Linked DNA regions of Homo sapiens: all the other regions are linked to region 1. Evidence: promoter capture Hi-C in 16 types of primary human blood cells and fetal thymus (Javierre and others, 2016). All regions are on one chromosome and are shown on one strand. Each heading gives the region's core, a stretch centred on a gene start or on the middle of the fragment in contact. The rest is flanking DNA. Distances are from core to core; before and after follow the strand shown.

Region 1 (2,814 bases), core at 106-2,605:
ATGCACTGAAAACCCTATTTCCTGTAGGCAGAAACAAGCCCAGGCATTTGCCAAGACTGCTCATCTCATTCTGGTTTCATTGGAGGTGCTTAATCTCAGACAAGACCATCAGAAATCAGTTTGTATTACCTGAACTTTATCAGGGAGAAACATTTCTAACCCAAAGCAACCACCTAGAAAACAAGATTATCAGACTAGCTCAACAAAGGAACACGAAGAGAGTATAGATTTATTTTTCTCCAGTGGCATCTTCTGCAGTGAAGAACATCCTTAAATACCTAATAATGTTTGTATATCTGAACTACTGAATAAGAAAAAATAATGCAAAAGAGAGAAGTGTGGAACAAGAATAAAGTGAAAGAAAAATGGAAATATTTTAACTATATGGGGAAAATACTAGAAGGATAATCTCCTACTACATGATGTATTTAATAAGGTAGGGAAAAGGTGAAATGATGTCTTTAAATTATGACTGGAAGAGATAGATTGTGAGAAACAATATCTGATTAAATCATTGGGGTGAATGAGTGAGCACATAGGCACACACACATGCACGCACACATTGCTCCGCTATTAATATTGATACCTTCAGCATTCTTTACAAAGAAAATCACCTTGCAGGTCTATAGGGTATATGAATATTATGGGAAAGTGGAACTGGTCTCTTTCCTATTTCCTTTTAATATTAATTGCCTGATCAAACACATTACTATCACAATGGGTAGACCAGGTATATCAGTGACTCAAAGCTTCAAAGTGACAGCTTATAAAGGGATACAAGGAATCTTGCATTGCAAAGAAAAAGAAAAAGATCTAGAAGCTGTGCCTCTGCCCTACCTCCACTCTGCCCTACCACTGCCACTGCTGAAAAGAAGGAAGGAAAGGAGAGACAGAAGGGCGTTTAACCACACTTTACGATTGCTGTGGGGAGAGGGAAAAAAAACTCAACACTTTTGGCATAAGATTATTTCCAAGCGACTGTTTGCAGCTGTTGCAGCTGCCATCAGCATGAGCTGGTGGGAAAACAGCGCCCAGTGGTGCATCTTACCTGAAGAGCAGAGAAGTGCAGGCAGATGTAGGTGAAGCACAGGAGCAGCCCCAGTCCCTGAATTACAGAGGCCACCAGCAATAGCTTGTTCCTCTCGAATCTTGGCCTGGCTGCATTTCCCACATTCTCTTCCAGGGGTTGGACCCTTTCCATCTTCACAATCTGGGTAGAGGGAAGATGAAGATATGGAAAAGGGGAACGTGCGATAAAACTGAAGTTTTCCCCAGAAAGAAGGAGGTAAAGACAAAACAAAGCCTATCAATCAGAAAATAGGCAAAGGTCCCAGGGCCAGAGATAAAAGGCGATTGAAAGAGCAAAGCGGACTCTCTCAGTTTTAACGCTGCAACTTTTGCAGGCAGGCGGGGGAACTTCTTTGTGACTAATCTGAATTTCCCCTTTACTTTCTTTCTTTTTTTTTTTCCTCTGGGCTAACAGGGAGTTGTTTTTGTGACATTCCAGTTCTGATTTGAGTGACTGTGAAATGACAGTCATAAAAGTATGCTATTTTCTTAACTTATTGCACCAGTAACAAATTGTGGGTCACTTGGTAAAGATAAAAATCATCATCCGTTAATGTAGCAGCTCATATATCCCTTCCCCAAGGTGTCTTAAATCATAGAAAAGATTTAGGGGAAATGCTGGCCCAAGGTTCTTATCTGCACTTTACTATGTAACTAAACATTGAACCCCTCTCACAGATTCAGAAAGAAAGCACACACAGATCATTCTTGAATGAAAAAGACAAAACAAGAAAATAGGACACTGGGTCATGCAGAAGTAAAGGAGAGATCCTTGGTTGTAGTCTATTGCATAAAAATAAACTACCTTTTGGAAGCATTTACTATGTGTCAGACACTGTGTTAGATGGACTTGCAATCTTTCTCTCATTTAACCCTTTGAGGCAAATTCAATAAACAATTATATGATTAATTTTCTGCATACCAGAAAAGAAGCAGAAGGGTATCCTTGTCTCCTTTCCTTCCACTTCACATTTTTCCCGTACATAATTTTTCCATGAATGAACAAATGAATAGATGTAAATAAGCTTTGAAGATTATTTCTTTCTTTGAGGTCGTGGCTGGCCTCAGAACTTGGAAAGTAAGAGTATTCTATCAATAGACACCAGGTACCCTTTACCACTAAAATAAACAATGAAATGAAATAAATGATAAAATTACTTATAATGTAAAGTTCAAATGGGCAAATATTTACTGAGTACATCACATGAGCCTGGCACTGTACTGGACAACATAAGGATGCTGGGGAAAAGCTGTTTAAGACGGAATTGTCTCTCTTTGTGGCCAAGTATGTCTCTCTCAGCTCCCCATGAGGCACCCAGCAGATATGTAAAGAAAGGAGGGAGAAATATTTTGGATATTGACAGTATGAGTTGTTATACCACTTCACAGAAAAAATGGAAATGAGGCATACTTAAAAGAGAAAGTTTGTGGGAAATGTAAAGTACATTTATGACTACAGTATTAATCAATTAAAATATGAATTAATACCTTCACTACAATAATTATGCCTTGCATTAGGAGAACATACTGGTGTTGAGAAATTTAAGTTTTATCTGAAAGATAAGGTAACTAAGGCACAATATCATAGACTCCAAGCCAAAACTAGAAATCAAATTGTATCCAAACATATTTGTCATAGTTATTCCCTTGAACAAAGCTTGTGTTACATACAGGGTGTGGAGAAAAAAGCTGAAGGAAAAATCAGTGTGTAAAGCCCAATTCTTGTGTAATAGTTCTTCATAAAAG
Region 2 (2,801 bases), core at 255-2,754, 420 kb before region 1:
CCCCTATTGCTTTCTCTAGCTCATCTTTAAGGCCAATAACTCTTAGATTTGCCCTTTGGGGGCCATTTTATAGATCCTGTTGATGCGTTTCATTTTCTGTTGTTATTTCTTTTGTCTTCTCTGACCGTGCATTTTCAAATAGCTTGTCTTCAAGCTCACTAATTCTTTCTTCTGCTTTATCAATTCTGCTATTAAAAAGCTCTGATGCCTTCTTTAGTATTCCAGTTGCATTTTTTAGCTCCAGAATTTGTGCTTGATTCTTTCAAATTATTTCAATTTCTTTGTTCAATTTATCTGATATAATTCTGAATTCCTTCTCTGTATTATCTTGAATTTCTTTTGAGTTTCTTCAACACAGCTATTTGGAATTCTCCGTCTGAAAGGTTACATATTTCTGGTTTTTTTTTTTTCCAGAATTGGTTCCTGGTGCCTTAATTAGTTCATTTGGTTAGGTCATGTCTTCCTGGATTGTGTTGATGCTTATAGATGTTCTTCGGTGTCTGAGCATTGAAGAGTTATGTATTCATTGTAGTCTTCTCAGTCTGGGCTTGTTTCTACCTGGGCTTCATGAGAAGGCTTTCCATATATTCAAAGAAACTTGGTGTTGTGATCTAAGCTGTATCTGCTTTAGAGGGCATGCCAAGCCCAGTAATGCTGTGGTTCTTGCAGACTCATAGAGGTAACACCTTGATGGTCTTTCTTTCTGGAAGATGGCTCTTCCAGACAAGATCTGGAAGAATTTTCTGGATTACTAGGCATAGATTCTTGTTCTCTTGTTTTTTTACTTTCTCTCAAATGTAAGAAGTCTTTCTCTCTGTTCTGAGCCACCTGGAGCTGGAGTGGACTGACACAGGCACCTCTGTGGCCACCACCACCAGGACTGCACTGGGTCAGGCTTGAAACCAAACAGCACTGGGTCTCACCCAAGACCTGCTATAACCACTCCATGGCTATGTCTTATGTTCACTCAAGGCCCTGGGGCTCTACAATCAGTAGGTGGCAAAGCTAGCTAGACCTGTGTCCTTCTCTTCAGAGTGGCAAGTTTCCCCAGGCCCCAGGTAGGTCCAGAGGTGCCATCTGAGAGTCAGGGACTAGAGTTAAAAACCTTAGAAGTCTACTTGGTGTTCTATTTTACTGTCACTGAGCTGTCACTCAAACCACAAGATGCAGTCCTTTCTACTCTTACCTCACCTTTCCAAAGGCAGAGGAGCCTCACCCCATGGCCACTGCCACCAGAAACCCATGAGGAGTACTGCCGGAGTATAGCTGATGTTCTTTTATGGCCTGAGGGCTCTTCATTCAGCTTGCAGTGAATGCTGCCTAATCTGAGACTCACCCTTCAGAGCAGTGGGCTCCCCTCTGGCTCAGGGAATGTCCAGAAATGCTATCAAAAAGCCAAGTACCAGAATTGGGGTCTCCATAAGCCTGCTTGGTGCTCTAAACCCCTGTGACTGAGCTGGTACATAAGGTGCAAGAGAAAGTCCTCTTTATTTTTCCCTCTGCCTTTCTCGAGTGGAAGGAATCTTGCCCCATAGCTACCACAGCTGGGAATGTGCTGAGTCTCACCCAACACCAGTAAGTCTCCAAGTCTCATCCAAGGCCCTCAGTGTAGTACCTGGGTATCACTGCTGGTTATTCAGGGCCCAAGGACTCTTCAGTTAGCAAGTGATGAATACTGACAGGACTGAGTTCTTTCCTTCAAGGCAGTCAGTTCCCTTCTGGCCCTGGGTGTATCTAGAAATGTTGTCTGGAAAGAGGGCCTCATGACTCTGACCAGTGCCCTATCCTGCTGTGGTTGAGCTGGTATCCAAGATGTAGGACAAAGTCCTCTCTATTCTTCCCTTTCCTCTCCTCAACTGGAGGGAAGGGGTCTTTTTTTGGAGCCAAGAGCTATGCAGCCTGTGGTAAGGGAAGGAGAGATGCCTGCACTCCCTTAGCTGCCCCAGTTGGTTTCTCAGTAGGTCCTGTGGTCCCCCAGTCCATTGTTTCTGGGACCAGTTCAGCACTAGGACTTGCCAAAGAATTGCAGTCCTTGTGGCCTAGACTGCCTTTCAAGAGCTCCAGGGCTGGTTTAAATGCTCCCCCCATGGGCAGGCATCAGCTGAGTTTGGTCTGGTTTTGTTTTCTGTTATAATAGGGCAGCACTGAGTTCAATGCCTCACAATTGCTGTGATCTCCCTCTCCCCAGAGCACAGAAATGTTGTCTGCACTTTGCCATTGCTGCTGGGGAATGGGGAAGGGGTAGTGTCCGCAATTCAAGACTGTTTTTCCTACGTCTTCAGCAATGTGAAGTTAAAACCAAGTACTGTGAATGCTCGCCTGATTTCTAGTTCTTATGAAGATGCTTTTTTTAATGTGTAGACAGTTGTTAAATTGGTGTTGTGCCATCTTGCTCTGCCACCTTGCCTATTTAATTTTTCCAAGAATCATTTTCTCCATGTGTAAGTTGGAATAATAGTAATATTTACCTCATAGTTGATCTTGAGGAATAAATTAGATTATATACACAAAATTCTTGATGCAGTGTCTGGCACATAGAAAATGAAACTTCTTTAATATATGCACACATACATACACATACCACACTTCATTGTCTCATCTTACATGGTTGACTCTTTCCTCCTTAATTAAAAAGAAAAGCTGAAAAAACCCTCATCTTTCCTAGGGAACAGAATGGTGACCCTCAACTGATTATTTATGCACTTGGGAAAATATTTTCTTCTCAACTCTCCCTTACCTTTTACCTTTCTATCCCCCACATCAGGAGCAGGAGAAGATCAGAGAAATCTGCTACAAAACCA
Region 3 (2,700 bases), core at 36-2,535, 480 kb before region 1:
AAATAGTCTGCAGAACAAAACTTCTTTTGCCGTCACTGTACACATATATGAATACCTTATGACAATTAAGGAAAGATAGCTGTACACCAGCCTTGCTTTGAATTTAGAGCTGAACATGTCTGCTGGTATAAAATTGTATCAGTAGATATGTGTGTATATTCCCCAGTTGTGTCAAGCACAGATCAGACACCTCTCCTCCCCATGCTGTAATATGTATTACAAATGCAATAACAAGTTAAAGTGGAAGAAGATGGGTAACACAAAACCTTACTTTTGATCATTTTAGTGTTTAAGTTCTGGGTGATTTTGTCTGATTTATATTTATGATAATGAATAGAGTCAGTTATTAAATATTGTTGGTGACTTGACTTTAGAACCAAAAATTAAGACTCATGATTTTTTAAGTGCCTCGATCAATTTAATTGAAGCTATCCTGAGATTTCAATATGAGCTGTTAACAGTTACAATTGCTTCTCTGTTTGACTTGATTTCTAAAGGTCTGGTTCCCTCAATGTGTAAGTCTCATGTAAGCTTAGCAAACCAGTAATTTTCCTTCTCAGCCTTCAGTTTTCTGTCTGTACATTGAAGCATTTGAAACAGATGATCATCATGATGTGCTTCAGCTCTGTAACTCTCTGAGGGTTCTCTTTAGTTCACAGCTTATTTACACAGTTAATAAAATTCATTTCTGGGAGCTCCTCTGCATGTCATCTGACAACTAATGTCAAAACGGCAGAAGTATACTAAATAGTAAAGTGGCTTATAACTACAAGTAGATTAAATGCTTACTTGTAGTTTATATTAGGTTCTCACTGACATTGCAATTTGTTGAGAATTATGTAAAAACTGGAAGAATTAAACATAGCTGAGTAAATGTGGCTGGGATGCACCTCTTCCATGGAGAAAAACCAAAATATTGAGTAAACCTTCACACTTCGAACAGAACTTTTGAGAGAAAACACTGAAATTTAATAGAGAAGCAACAGAAGACCTCGTGGTTGAAGAAAGAGGAAACAGGGCTGCCTGCTTGGCATCAGGACTGACCCCTAGACCCAGGTCACACCCAAGGAAGCAGTGAGTAAAGGAACCCTGGGACACCTCATTCCTGCTGTGGACCTCTGAGCTCCTAGCTACAAGAGTTCCTATGACCTCTACAGACTGGCAGGGGGAGCTGCCTAGAGAACACACCAAGGGACTGCTTGAAACTGCATGCTAAAGATCTTTTTTTCACAGCTGCAGCAAAATGCAACTCTGGGTGCCCACCTTCCAAGGCTTTGCATCCTGTCCTAAGAAGTTGCAGCTCCTGTTGTCTGCCAGGCCAGGAGAGAGTGGAGGTCAGGCACTCATGCACCCAAGACAAGCCCCAATGCCATTGCCACAGGACTAAGATGCATCCGAACCACATGCCTCCATCCCTGCTGGTCCCTCCTAAGACTGCCTGGCCATTCCCAGGAGGAGCTGGGAGGAGACCCACAGTATAGCCTTTACTGCTCCGCCTGAGTGGTTTGTTGGTGGCAGCCTGGGAGCACTTTACTCCCCCATCATAGTTGGTGCTAGACCCCAAGGAGACAGAGGGTAATTAAGTTGGCCTGGTTCCAATTTTCTAGGCCTCAAGCACACCACCCAGAAGTATGGAGATAAGATCTACGGCCTGATCTCCAGTGGAGGATCTCCTCTGTTAAAACACAGAGAAGAGTGTGTCAGGTTCATGTGGTGGTGCAGGAGCTGGGCACCCCTCTCTTCACAACGCTGGTGGGAAGGGTGTGGCCTGATAGCGATTTCTGCTGCAGGGTGTCTCGTGGTCTAGAATACATGGAATAGCTTGGTGATCTTGGCATGGATGGGTTGAAACTAACCTAATGGGTTAGGCCTGTTGCTCTTGGGGTTGTGGGAGGTGAGTGGGCCTGACAGCTGCCTGCTGCTCTGAAGACCCTGGGCGCCTCTCTTCCCTTGAGAGTGCCCTGTGTTGCAGGCGAAGGACCTCTGCCCCTCCCTGGAGGGTTGTCCCAGAGGCCTGAGAGCTACCCATAGAACCTCACCAAGCTTGGTGCTTGCATCCAGCCAGGGGAGCTTGACTGTGGGCTCACCTAACACCGCCTTGCTCAACTTTCCCCTCTTCAGCCACCTTGGCAGCAGAGCATGGGAGAGAACCCCTGAGAGCTCCACACTCTGCCCCTCACCAGGAACACCCTGGTACATTCCCCCATCAATAAAGTCCAAGTAAAAATTCCACTGCCATCACTGCAACTGCCTTTTGCCTGCAAGCACCACCTACTGGCCAGGAGGTCAAATTGCATGGTCCATCACAACTTCTGCTGACATCAGTGTATAGCACTCAATTGGCTCTTACCAGCAAGTGTCACCTGCTGGTCTGTAGGGTGAACTGCACAACCCCAATATGATTCCTGCTGACACAAGGGCACAGTGCTGGGAAACAAGCCTCTCAAAACTTCTACATCCCCATTTCTATAGGAGGTAGTGAGCTTGACCACATGCACAGCACACAAATACTACAATCTACAAGCAACTAGCATTTGTGAAAACCACTACACTAAGACTATCTATGACCAAAGAATTCATATAGAGCCTTGGCTCCCTAAAAACACATAGAAACAAAACCAAAGGACTCTACCCCATATATGCAACAGTCACACCCTCAAGGGGGGAAGAAAAAAAATCTCATCCAAATGAAAGTAAATT
Region 4 (2,700 bases), core at 71-2,570, 500 kb before region 1:
GTGAAGGGTTATTCAGGCACGTCCTTACTGGGCACTGTAAGGGCTTTGGGTTTTACTCTGAGTGAGGTAGGGATCCTCTTTAGGGGAGTGATATGATCTGACTTATGCTTTAAGAGGGTCTGACTTCTGCGTTGTGAAGAGACTATGGATGGGCAACGGTAAAGGCAAGGAGACCAGGAAAGAGCTGTGGCAACAATCCAAGAGATAGGTGAGGGTGAAAAGGGCCAGGGTGGGAGCAGCAGAGGTAGTGAGAAGTGGTCAGATCCTGGAAATATTTTCAAGGCAAGAGGTGACAGGATTTACTGACTGATAGGATGTGGGTTGTGAGAGAGAAAGAGGTCAGGCATGCTGGGTGGGTTTGATGATACCCAGCTCAGACACACACAGGTTATTTTTGACCTGAGTGACTGGAGGGATGAAGTAACAATTAACCAAGATGAAGACAGGGAAGATCAGGAGTTCACGTGTGAGAGAGAAGAGGAAAAGTTCTGTTTTGGATAAGTTGAACCTAAAGGGACTTGTGTTTCCAACACTTTATATTTCAACACTTTATATTCAAAAATATAAAGTAGGCAGTTCTGGATATGATTCTAAAGTTCAAGAGAGAGGTTTGGGCTGGATGTAGAAATTTGAGAGTCATGGAATATAACACTATTGAAAGTCATGAGACTGGATAAGTGAATGTTGACAGAGAAAAACAGAGGAACAAGGACTGAGTCTTGGCATACACCAGGATAAAGAGATTAGAAAGAAGAGGAGAAACCAGTAAAGGAGAGGGAAAAGAAGTGACCCACAGGGTAGGAGGAAAACCAGAGTGTGGGCTCCTAGAAATCAGGTGGAGAAAGTGTATGAAGGAGTAGGGAATGGTCTACTATGTCAAATGATTTTTACAGATCAAGTATGACGAGTGCTCAGAAATGCTGAGAATTGAGCCAACAAAGTAGGGGTCATTGGTGACTTTGATAAGAGCAGGTTTGGTGTGACTTTGAGGACAAACATCTTATTTGAAGGAGTGTAAGAAAGAATAAGAGAAGAAAAACTGGAGAGAGCAGATACAGACTCACTTGAGGACTTTTATAGTAAAATATAGCATATTATTAAGGGGAAAAGAGCCAAACACATAAAGAAATTTGAAAGAGAAGTGGAAAAGAAATCAATTCAATTAGGCAAGATGAAGAATAAAGTGGAGGATGGAAATTAGAAATTTATTTATTAGCAGAAAACTAATACTTCTAAATATTTTTGAAGGTCCTTATTAGGAATGCTCAGCCCTGGGCTGGGTGTTGCACCCTTCAGTCTTTAAAGAGATTACAGTCAAGTTGGTAGGACAGGCCTTCTATGTAAATGTTTAGATGATCACAAAAAGATTAGAACCATGGCAGTTCTGGGCATGACAAATGTCAAGTAAACGTTCCAGATCAGCTCTGGTCTGAATTATAGGAGTCGGGGGATTCATTGTGGAACAAGATGGTAAAACCATTTCTAGAAAGGATGTGGGTCAAGAGCTGGACCTATATCCCTTGAGAGATAGGTGGGAATGACCCAGCAGACAGATGTGAACAAAAGCAATAAACAGTAATGCTCTTGGTGTGGGCAAGGCCCAGTAAATCACTCCTTCTGCCACTGTGCTGAGCAGATGTTTCATGAATAGGGGAAGAGTGGGAAAAACAACATATGAGGGCAATAAATCCTTTTAAGGTCTCCTTCTAGTCAATAGTTGTGACTTCCCAACTCAATGAACCTTTAGTTTTAAGTCACTAAGAAGAAACAAAACTAAGAAATTGTCCATTCTTTAAAGGCAGACACCCTCACCTCTTCCCCACTGTGGGTGGTACTTATAGAGATGGCACACCCAGAGATGGGCAGAGAGAGGAAGAGGATGTGGCACACCACTCGGATAGAGAGGTCAGAGGGATCAACAGCCTGCTGTCTGCCAGGACTTTTAAGAAAATGCTCCTTGGTCTTTGGCTGTGTCTTATTGACTTAACCTGTATATAGAAGAAAGGAATTTTTGTAGGTCAGTCAAATGTATAAATGCCCTTATAAATTAATATATCAATGACATATTCAATACATACACCACTTTTCAACTTCTGTAGCTTTTATACCTTGTATGAAGAGAAGGAACATTGAAGGAGCTTGCTAGATTATCCAGCTCAGACCCACCCAGGCAATTCATAGGCAAAATACTTGTTTCCTCAGAGGGTTTGCAGGAATAAGCTGGTGTTGGGGGAAGGGGGAGGGAAGGAAAGGAAAATGAAAACAATGTGTAAAATAAAAATCACAAAGAGAAGGCCCTGGCTTTGTCTCCTTCCATTGTCACTTCCCCATCTCAATAGCACTCTCTTAGTGATTCCTTCCTGTCCCTGACTCTGGCTTCTTCCAAGTGCACTCCTAGTTCCCTTCCAGGCCTTCATGTCAGGAAACCAGCCTCTGCTTATCTGTGGTTAGGATGAGCCAGTTGTCAAAAAAAATTCTCTAGTTCCAGAGCTTTCATTCTCCTCATAAGTTACCTTTCTGAGCCCTCCTTCTACATAGCCAAATGTCTCTTTCCTCCTAGAACAAAAGAAGAGAAAACTGCTTTCCTATGAGCCCCCTCTTCTGAAGAGACATTTCCTGGCAGCGTGCTGTGGTCTTGTCTGGAGGTAGGCTTTAGTTGCTTGAGGTTTCAATAATTTTCATAACGAACAAGGGCTACAA
Region 5 (2,700 bases), core at 154-2,653, 440 kb before region 1:
AATCACCTCCCACAAAACTGTCCATCTCTCAGTGGGTACTGTTCTGACCAGCTGGCCTATGTGGTTTGCATTGCTGCCATGTTGGGGGTTATTGATTAAAAATAAAATAAAATTAATCAAGATGAATTGCTTACTTCTCTCCCTTAGATTTCTTTTATTTTGATGCTCTTATTCCACTCCTCTATTATCTTTATACTATATCTCTCTTTAGTAAACCAGAATGAATTGCTCAAAAAATTTGTTATTCAAATATGAGACATCTTTTAGTTTACAAATTATTTTCTTGAATTGCAACACATTTTCTTTTGAAAATGCTGTGGTAACTAATGACCCCCAAATCCAAGTGGGATATACAGGTTTGTTTCTTGCTCAAGTTACATGTCCATCATTGACCAGTTGAGGCTCTGGTCAATGTCATCTTCATTGTGGGACCCAGGATGCTGGTGTGGCCTCTAACCGGGATGCTGCTGGGCTCATGGGAGAAGGAAGTAGGGCCTAGTGATCACATGCTGTCTCTTAAAGTTTCTTCTTGTAAGTGAAAAGAAGCTTTTGAAGCTCCCCCTCTTAAATTCCCCTAAGAATTCCTTCCAGGGTTTATTTGACCCAAAGAGAGATCAGTCCTTTTCTAATGCTAGGTATAGGGAGAACTGGGCTTTGAACAGTATGTTGCCCATCACCACTTGGGGTTGCTGCTGAAGACAAGTCAGGTATGTCCCTCCAGTGCTGCTTGTCCACTGAAGCAGCATGGCCCTGGGTTGTCCAGACACCTCCATTTCTGAAGTGGCTACACTCAGTCCGTATGGATATGGCTTTAGCAGAAAGCACTTTTGGTTAACATACACAGACACATCCAGAGGCACAAGCTCACCAATACTGAGGTCTGGTTGGATTCCAATAACTATTACTCAAAGAGCCAATATTCAATGTTCTTCCCTGTTAACCATTATCATCCAAGTGGCAACACAGCCTTTTTAAAGCTTCTCAAAATTCAACATGTTTTATATCTTTTTTCCTGTAAAAATACTACCTTACTATAGCAGATAAAATGTAACTGTTCATGGAACCATTTTATTTTCTTCCTGGTCACATAGGAAGATTTCATTTTCCAGTCCTCCTTTCAACTAGGTGGAATCTGTGATGAAATCTGCCTAGAGAATATGGGCCTTACCTTTCCTGGGCCTTGCTATAAAAACTTTTCTGTGAGATCTTCCATGAGCTCTTTAACTATGTGTTTGGAAATAAGGATTCCAAAATGGTTGCATTGCAAGTTGGGAACAGCATGAGCCTTAAATCACTACTTAGAGGGGAGCCATCAGAAGAGTGATTAACCTGCATTGGAGCTCGTCTACATGAGAAATTTTAATTTTGTGAGTTTCTGAGATTTGGGAATCTACCCGTTGTTGTGACAGAGCCTATGCTTCTTTAACCAATATAGGTATTACTCAAGGCATTTTGCCCTCCCTCGATAATGTCACTCAACTTATCTGCATAACCAAGAAGAGCCTTTTACATATATCCACTTGAACTGAAACAGTTTGCTTTAGGGGGCCTTGTTTAATGACTCCCAGTCATTAAAGAGGTTGGCAAGTTATAGGACTTATATCAGTCAGCTTGGCTAAGTTATGCTGTGGTAACTAATGACCCCCAAATCCAAGTGGGATATACAGGTTTATTTCCTGCTCAAGTTACATGTCCATCACTGACCGACTGAGGCTCTGGTCCATGCCTTGTTCACTGTGGGACCCAGGATGACGGCGTGGCCTCTAACTGTGGTGTTGCTGGGCTCATGGGAGAGGGAAATAGAGCCTAGTGATCACATGCTGTGTTTTAAAGCTTCTGCTCGTAAGTGAAAAAACATCACTTCTGCTTGCATGTAATGAACCAAAGCAAATCACATGGCTAAAGCTGATGTCATGGAGGATAATACATAATCCTCCTACAGGGAAGGACATCACAGAAAGGGGAACTGGAATATTTGGAAGAATAGTAATGCCATCTATCACAACCCTCAAAGGACACTCTTCTTACTTTATGTCTTGAAAGTCACCAATTATTTTTATTTGATTATTTATTTATTTATTTGTTTTTTGAGACAGGCTTGCTGTGTCACCCAGGTTGGAGAGGAGTAGCACAATCATGGCTCACTGTACCCCTAATCTCCTGGGCTCAAGTAATGCTCCTGCCTCAGACTCCCTAGTAACTAGGACATAAGTGTGTGCCACCACACCTAGCTAATTTTTAAAATTTCTACTAGAGAGGAGGTCTTACTATGTTGCTCAGGTTGGCGCTGAATTCCTGAGCTTAAGTGATCCTCCTGCTTCAGCCCCCTAAAGTTCTGGGATTACAGGCATGAGCCACTGCACCCAGCTTATCCTATTATTTTTAAAAGGTACAGATTAGGTTGCTGGTGAGACCTTGCTTAATTTAAATTCTTTGGAAATATATCCTTCCCTAGCACGGAGTCTGGAGATAGGCAAATATATTAATGGAAAGACAAGAGTGTTAAATAACCCCAAACTTAGTGCTCCTCAAATAACCTTGTGAAAAAGGGATACTCAGCCACTCTCTGCTCCTTTCTTAGTCAGATGCTCCTTACGTTAGCCTCATGATATAACTTTCTTGGGCTGTATTAGTTTTCTATTGATGCTGTACCAATTACCTCAAATTTAGCAGCAGAAAACAGCATCCATTTATTATCTC

The links. Contacts are between HindIII fragments. The CHiCAGO score rates a contact against its expected background, and 5 or more counts as called.
Region 2: a contact is called between a fragment that was not itself captured here and the fragment with the promoter of TNFSF4 in region 1, in 3 of 17 cell types (naive B cells, M2 macrophages and activated CD4 T cells). The highest score is 9.1, in naive B cells.
Region 3: a contact is called between a fragment that was not itself captured here and the fragment with the promoter of TNFSF4 in region 1, in 2 of 17 cell types (M0 macrophages and monocytes). The highest score is 8.6, in M0 macrophages.
Region 4: a fragment that was not itself captured here is called in contact with the fragment with the promoter of TNFSF4 in region 1 in 1 of 17 cell types (monocytes); the score reaches 5.3 in monocytes.
Region 5: a contact is called between a fragment that was not itself captured here and the fragment with the promoter of TNFSF4 in region 1, in 14 of 17 cell types (M0 macrophages, M2 macrophages, M1 macrophages and 11 more). The highest score is 17.0, in M0 macrophages.

What each region holds. Positions count from the first base shown.
Region 1 is chr1:173,205,976-173,208,789 of GRCh38, forward strand. It overlaps TNFSF4 (TNF superfamily member 4), which reads right to left and starts at 1,356. Exons shown (of 3, transcript NM_003326.5): 1 at 1,049-1,356. The coding sequence starts at 1,201. RefSeq lists an enhancer at 1,288-1,347. The HindIII fragment of the contact is 1,344 bases long and covers 748-2,091 here.
Region 2 is chr1:172,787,030-172,789,830 of GRCh38, forward strand. No RefSeq gene overlaps it. Among named protein-coding and RNA genes, the nearest start is that of FASLG, 130 kb to the left of the region's middle. The HindIII fragment of the contact is 3,168 bases long and covers 1-2,801 here.
Region 3 is chr1:172,725,866-172,728,565 of GRCh38, forward strand. No RefSeq gene overlaps it. Among named protein-coding and RNA genes, the nearest start is that of FASLG, 68 kb to the left of the region's middle. RefSeq lists a silencer at 2,410-2,459. The HindIII fragment of the contact is 1,512 bases long and covers 530-2,041 here.
Region 4 is chr1:172,702,335-172,705,034 of GRCh38, forward strand. No RefSeq gene overlaps it. Among named protein-coding and RNA genes, the nearest start is that of FASLG, 45 kb to the left of the region's middle. The HindIII fragment of the contact is 3,439 bases long and covers 1-2,700 here.
Region 5 is chr1:172,764,823-172,767,522 of GRCh38, forward strand. No RefSeq gene overlaps it. Among named protein-coding and RNA genes, the nearest start is that of FASLG, 110 kb to the left of the region's middle. The HindIII fragment of the contact is 856 bases long and covers 976-1,831 here.